2 separate regions of the Homo sapiens genome follow, and region 2 is linked to region 1. Evidence: promoter capture Hi-C in human tissues and cell types (Jung and others, 2019). All regions are on one chromosome and are shown on one strand. Each heading gives the region's core, a stretch centred on a gene start or on the middle of the fragment in contact. The rest is flanking DNA. Distances are from core to core; before and after follow the strand shown. Region 1 overlaps GNB1 (G protein subunit beta 1). Region 2 holds the start of MIB2 (MIB E3 ubiquitin protein ligase 2).

The links. Contacts are between HindIII fragments. The study calls those that stand out against the background at their distance.
Region 2: a contact is called between the fragment with the promoter of MIB2 here and a fragment that was not itself captured in region 1, in 2 of the 25 tissues and cell types used here (bladder and spleen).

What each region holds. Positions count from the first base shown.
Region 1 is chr1:1,821,953-1,824,805 of GRCh38, forward strand. All of the region lies in intron 3 of GNB1 (G protein subunit beta 1), which reads right to left. Among named protein-coding and RNA genes, the nearest start is that of NADK, 45 kb to the left of the region's middle. The HindIII fragment of the contact is 4,641 bases long and covers 1-2,853 here.
Region 2 is chr1:1,614,083-1,616,935 of GRCh38, forward strand. It overlaps MIB2 (MIB E3 ubiquitin protein ligase 2), which reads left to right and starts at 1,418. Exons shown (of 20, transcript NM_001170687.4): 1 at 1,418-1,551; 2 at 2,426-2,532. RefSeq lists an enhancer at 913-1,082 and silencers at 1,183-2,232, 2,263-2,352. The HindIII fragment of the contact is 4,042 bases long and covers 1-2,853 here.

The DNA.
Region 1 (2,853 bases), core at 240-2,739:
TGGTGGACTCTGTCTCTACAAAATTGAAAAAAACCAGCCAGGTGTGGCAGCATGCTCCTGTAGTTCCAGCTACTCGGGAGGCTGCAGTGAGCTGTGATCGCACCACTGCTCTCCAGCTTGAATGACTGACAGAGACCCTGTCTCAAAACACACAAACAAAAAAATGAAAAAAACCTTGTTAGGGTTAATTCCACCCGTTTCTTTTCATTCTTTTTCAAAAGACAGGGCCTTTCTACCTTACAAAGGCTGGTCTCAAGCTTTTGGGCTCATGCAATCCTCCTGCCTTGGTATCCCAAAGTACTGGGATTAACGGCATGAGCCACGGTGCCTGGCCGTCTCTCTTTTTACTTTTTTTTTTTTTTTTTTTGAGACGGAGTCTCGCTCTGTCTCCCAGGCTGGAGTGTGCAGTGGCGCGCTCTCGCCTCACTGCAAGCTCCGCCTCCCAGGTTCACGCCATTCCCTGCCTCAGCCTCCCAAGTAGTTGGGACTACAGGCGCCCACCACCACCACACCTGGCTAATTTTTTTTGTATTTTTTTTCTTTTAGTAGAGACGGGGTTTCACCGTGTTAGCCAGGATGGTATCGATCTCCTGACCTTGTGATCCACATGCCTCAGCCTCCCAAAGTGCTGGGATTACAGGCGTCAGCCACCGCGCCCGACCTCTTTTTACATTTTTTATGTGGCAACAAGAGCATGTGGGGAATGTCACGTGACATTTGTGCCAGCCCAAGAGGGAGCCCCCTGTGCAAGAAGGCCCTGGGGAATTCACAACGTGACAGGGTCCAAACCTCGGAAGGAGGTGCAACAGTTCCTTTTGGCCTTAATTTTTTAAATTTGGGTGTCTTTCACCTGTGCCATACAAGCTCTTTCCATCTGCTATGAATAGATCCAAGTCCACTATTTGTGAACAACTTATAGCTGTCAGAAAAACAAAATTTCTTCAAATATGCCAAATCACCCTACTATTTAAGACATTTTCAGGGTAAACTTTAAAATTCTGATTTCTAGGCCGGGCGTGGTGGCTCATGCCTGTAATCCCCGCACTTTGGGAGGCCGAGGTGGGCGGATCACGAGGTCAGGAGATCGAGACCATCCTGGCTAACACGGTGAAACCCCATCTCTACTAAAAGTACAAAAAATTAGCCGGGTGTGGTGGCGGGCGCCTATAGTCCCAGCTCCTCAGGAGGCCGAGGCAGGAGAATGGTGTGAACCCAGGAGGAGGAGCTTGCAGTGAGCTGAGATCGCGCCACTGCACTCCAGCCTGGGGAACAGGGCGAGACTGTCTCCAGAAAAAAAAAAAAAAAAAAAAAAAAATCTGATTTCTATAAGATGAAATATAGTCTCAAAAGCAGGTGGTAAAGAGCTGAGAGTGTTCTGAACCCCCCCAAAAACCCAGTTAGATTATTATTAAATAACAACACTTTGCTTTTCTTTTTTACTTGCCAAAAACCATGCTGACTTAAAATGAACAGCAGAAGCTTAAGTATTAAGTCAGGCAAAATTTGAATACCTTTTGGTTTTATTTAAATAGATATTTCAGAGAATAATTTTATATCAAACTAAATATTTCAGAACACATTTGATTAATTTTGGTGGAGGGGACATGTTAAACAAGTCTGATCAGAGCAAACTATTAAAAAAATCTAAGTCTTCCCTATTCACCTATGTAAGATCTTTTAAATGTTAAGATTTAAAATTCTTACAGTAGAGGATACTTTGTTTTCTCTTTGGCTGTAAATCTCAGAGAATTCCATTATTTTTTCTCAAGTTCAGGAACAAGTTGCCTAAAATTATGTTGGTGTTTCTCTCTCCAAATCCTGGTGGGCTTTCTAAACATGTAATTGGCCGTTTAAAAGGAAATACTTGACTTCATCCTTGCACTGGAGTCAGAAAAATAAACTGTTGTTTTTTATTTTATTTTACTGTATTTTGAGAAGGTGTCACTTTGTCACCTAGGCTGCAGTGCAGTGGTGCAATCACAGCTTACTATACAGCCTCAACCTCCTGGGCTCAAGTGATCCTCCTGGGTAGCTCAGACTACAGGCGCGCACCACCATACCCAGCTTATAAACTGTTATTTAGGTATGTACTGAATGTCATCAGCTTCCTGTACAGCGACACTCTGAAGAACAGCTAAAGCTTGACAGAGCAAACAAGAGTAAGAGAAAGCTCTTACATCAAATGGACAAAACCTAAAAACATACTGAAGACGTGGTTTTTCCTGAGAAGTCTGCCTCTTTTTCTCTTACTCTTCACATCAGCAGTTTCAGAAAGGAAACACATACTTGCATTAAATGTTTCTCTATAAAATATTTACTAGAAGTACTGCTTCACAAAAGTAGGAGCAGCAGAATGAATTCCATTTAGACCTACTGCTCCTCCCTTTTCAGAAAGTTATGAGGCAAGAGAATTGCTTGAAAGAGGTTGCAGTGAGACGAGATCGCGCCACTGCACTCCAGCCTGGGCACAACAGAGTGAAACTCTCTCTCAAATAAAAGTTTATGAACTCTGCAATTTAACATCCTACATCAGTCACAGACTGGAATTTAATGTTTTAGAATTCTGTGAAAGGTATTCTTTTTACAGTGCAGTTTATTTACACACGGTAAATAAATTTATCTTCAATTTTTTTTTTATTTTTCAGGGTCTCACTCTGACGCCCAGGTTGGAGTGCAGTGGCACAATCTCGGCTCACTGGATCCTCTGCCTCCCGGGTTCAAGGGATTCTCTGACTTTAGCCTCCTGAGTAGCTGGGAATACAGGCACACACCACCACACCCAGCTAATTTTTATATTTTTTGTAGAGATGGGGGTTTCACTATGTTGCCCTGGCTGGTCTCGAACTCCCGACC
Region 2 (2,853 bases), core at 168-2,667, 210 kb before region 1:
GAATTGTGGCATGGTTTTATACTGTAGCAGTGAACAGCAGGTACTCAATCATGAAGAGCTAAGCCTGATTTCATCACGACAGCTGTGAAAGTTGCAGGTACCAAAATGGAACTACTTCCACCAATCCCTAAACAAATGGAGTCGGGAGGCCACGAAGGGGGAGCTCTCATGCAGGAATACCTGCAGCAGGCCTCCTCACAAGACGCTCCTGCACGTCCTGCACGTTTGCCTGTAACCGGACTTACTGCAGGGAAATTCCTCAGGACTGCAGTATTCTAGATAAGCAGCTTGCACAAGGACGTCGGCCTGGTAAGGCTCTCTCCAACAACAAGCTAACGCCCACTCCTGCAGCAAGCGCCCACAGCCAGTGGTTTTTGTTACAAAACAACTTTTGTGAGCTCATCTGTATTTTCCCCTTCGCCCGGCCCTCTCAGATAGGCCTATGATCTGTCATGGCACGAACAGCCTAGGCTGCAACCCCCTGCGATTCCCAGATTAACTCACTTGTCCTGGAGAGCCTGCCTCTGGGTTTCCTTTCAGGTTGACAGTTTGGGAGCTAACAGGACCACGTGAGGGGTGCAGCGGGGAAGATCAGCCAGGTTCTCAGGGACCTTCTCCGGAAGTACGCAATGTCTACAATTAAGAAATGAGAGGCCGGGCGCGGTGGCTCACGCCTATAATCCCAGCACGTTGGGAGCCCTAGGAGGGCAGATCACGAGGTCAGGAGTTCGAAATCAGCCTGGCCAAAATGGTGAAACCCCGTCTTGACTAAAAATGCAAAAATTAGCTGTGCGTGGTAGCGCATGCCTGTAGTCCCAGCTGCTCGGGAGGCTGAAGCAAGAGAATAGTTTAAGCCCTGGAGGCGGAGGTTGCAATGAGCCGAGATCGCGCCATTGCACTCCAGCCTGGGCGACAGGGCGAGGCTCCGTCTCCAAAAAAAAAAAAAGAAAGAAAGAAAGAAATGAGAAACTAGCAGTGCATTGTTCAGAAACGCGGAGACTTCTCTCAGGAGAAAGCGAGAAGCAAGCGTCCAACTCTGGGGTGCAGAACCCGGGGCGGGAGGACGGGCCCGGACTGCCGTTTCTCGCTGTGTCCAGGTCTGCGTGACTCAAAACCCCGGATAGGGCCCGCACTGGTGGAGTCGGAAAGAGGTGGCTGCGGCGCGGCAAGTGCCGCCAGTGCCAGCGAGCGCGACGTCGCTCCCAAGCCCCCGTCTCTATGGCAACCGAGTGCGTCTCTAGGACCGCCACTGCGCAGGCGCCCGGAGGCTAAGCCGCTCGGAACCTAGCTGCGCCACGCAGGGTAGGCGACGCAGACGCTCCCGCGTGACGCACTTCCGGTGCTTGCCCTGCCCATCCCCGTGGCGGGGGCGTGGCCATGGCGGGGGCGCTCCGGCGGGGGCGGGCCCTGGGCTCCCGCCCTTCGGGTCCCACAGTTTCCAGCCGCCGCTCTCCTCAGTGCCCGGTGGCCCAGGAGGGCCTGGGAGCCCGAAGCCGTCCCCGAGTCGCTCCTAGGTCACTGGCGCGATGCGGGCCGTCCTCTCGGCTGATGGTGCGTGCGGGCGCGGATCTCCTCCCCTGGTCCTCCGCACCGTCCCCGAGTCGTTCTCCGCTCTGGCAGAACGCGAGCGCCGTCCGGTTCCCGCTCCCGCTGGCCCAGCAGCCCCGGGCTGGACTCGGCGTAGGGTCCGCACGGGATGGGCTGGGGCTGCGCGCGCAGCGCCGCCGCGGGGCCTCCTGGGAGTTGTGGTCCGGCCACCCGCGCGGGACTCCAGCTCCCGGCAGGCCTCGCGCGGCCCGGGGCCAGCGGCGCTGGGGTCGGCGCTGGGGTCGTCGTCCGGGCCGGGTGGGCTGCGGCGCGCGGCAGGCGCTCTGGCCTGGCCTGGCCGCCGCTGAGCAGTCGGGGCCGGTGGGTGGCCTCGAACGCCGGGACAGACCGACAGACGGACTGGCCGGCGGTCCCGCGCCCCCGAGCGGAGCGGGCGGGACGGAAACGTCCGGGCAAGTTGGGGTCGGCAGGTACTGCGCGGCCCTGGCAAGGTCTGGCAGCGGACAGGGCCGGGCGGCCTCCGCGAGCCACGGGCACGAATGACAGGGGGCGGGGCGCGCTCCGGGTGGGGGTGCCCGCCGTGCCCGCCCCTGGCCCGCCCGTTCCCCTGCGCCGGCGCCCGTGCGCGTCCCGGAGCCTCCTGACGTCTGCGAGCCGCGGCCGCCAGACCCCGGGCGCACGCAATTACGGGCCCGGCGCTGGCGGCTCCTGCGCGCTCAGACCCCAGGGAGCCCATCCGGGCAGGCGGCGGCCCTGAGTGTCGCGGCCGTGGGCCCGAGTGGACCTGGAGCCGGCGGGCAGCCCCGGGGGCAGACAGGCGACCGAGCCGCGGGTCGAGGTGCTAACTGTGCATCTTGGCATCTCCCCTCGGCCACAGGGTTGGAAGCCCAGCGAGGCTAGAGGCCAGTCCCAAAGTTTCCAGGCATCAGGGCTGCAGCCCAGGAGCCTCAAGGCGGCCCGGCGGGCGACTGGACGGCCGGACAGGTGAGCTCTTGATCGTCCGCGGCCTGATAGTTTGCACTTGGCTCTCCCACTTTGGGGCTCCGTGGAAGCCACGTCAGAGAGGCTGTGTTTGTGTCTGAGCATGCATGCGAGTGGAGGGGAGTGGTGAGTAATCCCGCGTCTCCTCTCTGAGTTCGGAACCCATGGAGGAAGAAAGCAGAGGTGCCAGACAGGCCTCTGATAGGCACCTGCAGGATTGGGGCAGAGCGGCCGCAGCGCAGGAGCGCCGGCAAGCCTGGCCCTTCCCGGGAGGCCCCCTTTGTCCGGTTCCACCCTGGCCTGTTGCCTCACATGCAACAAGTG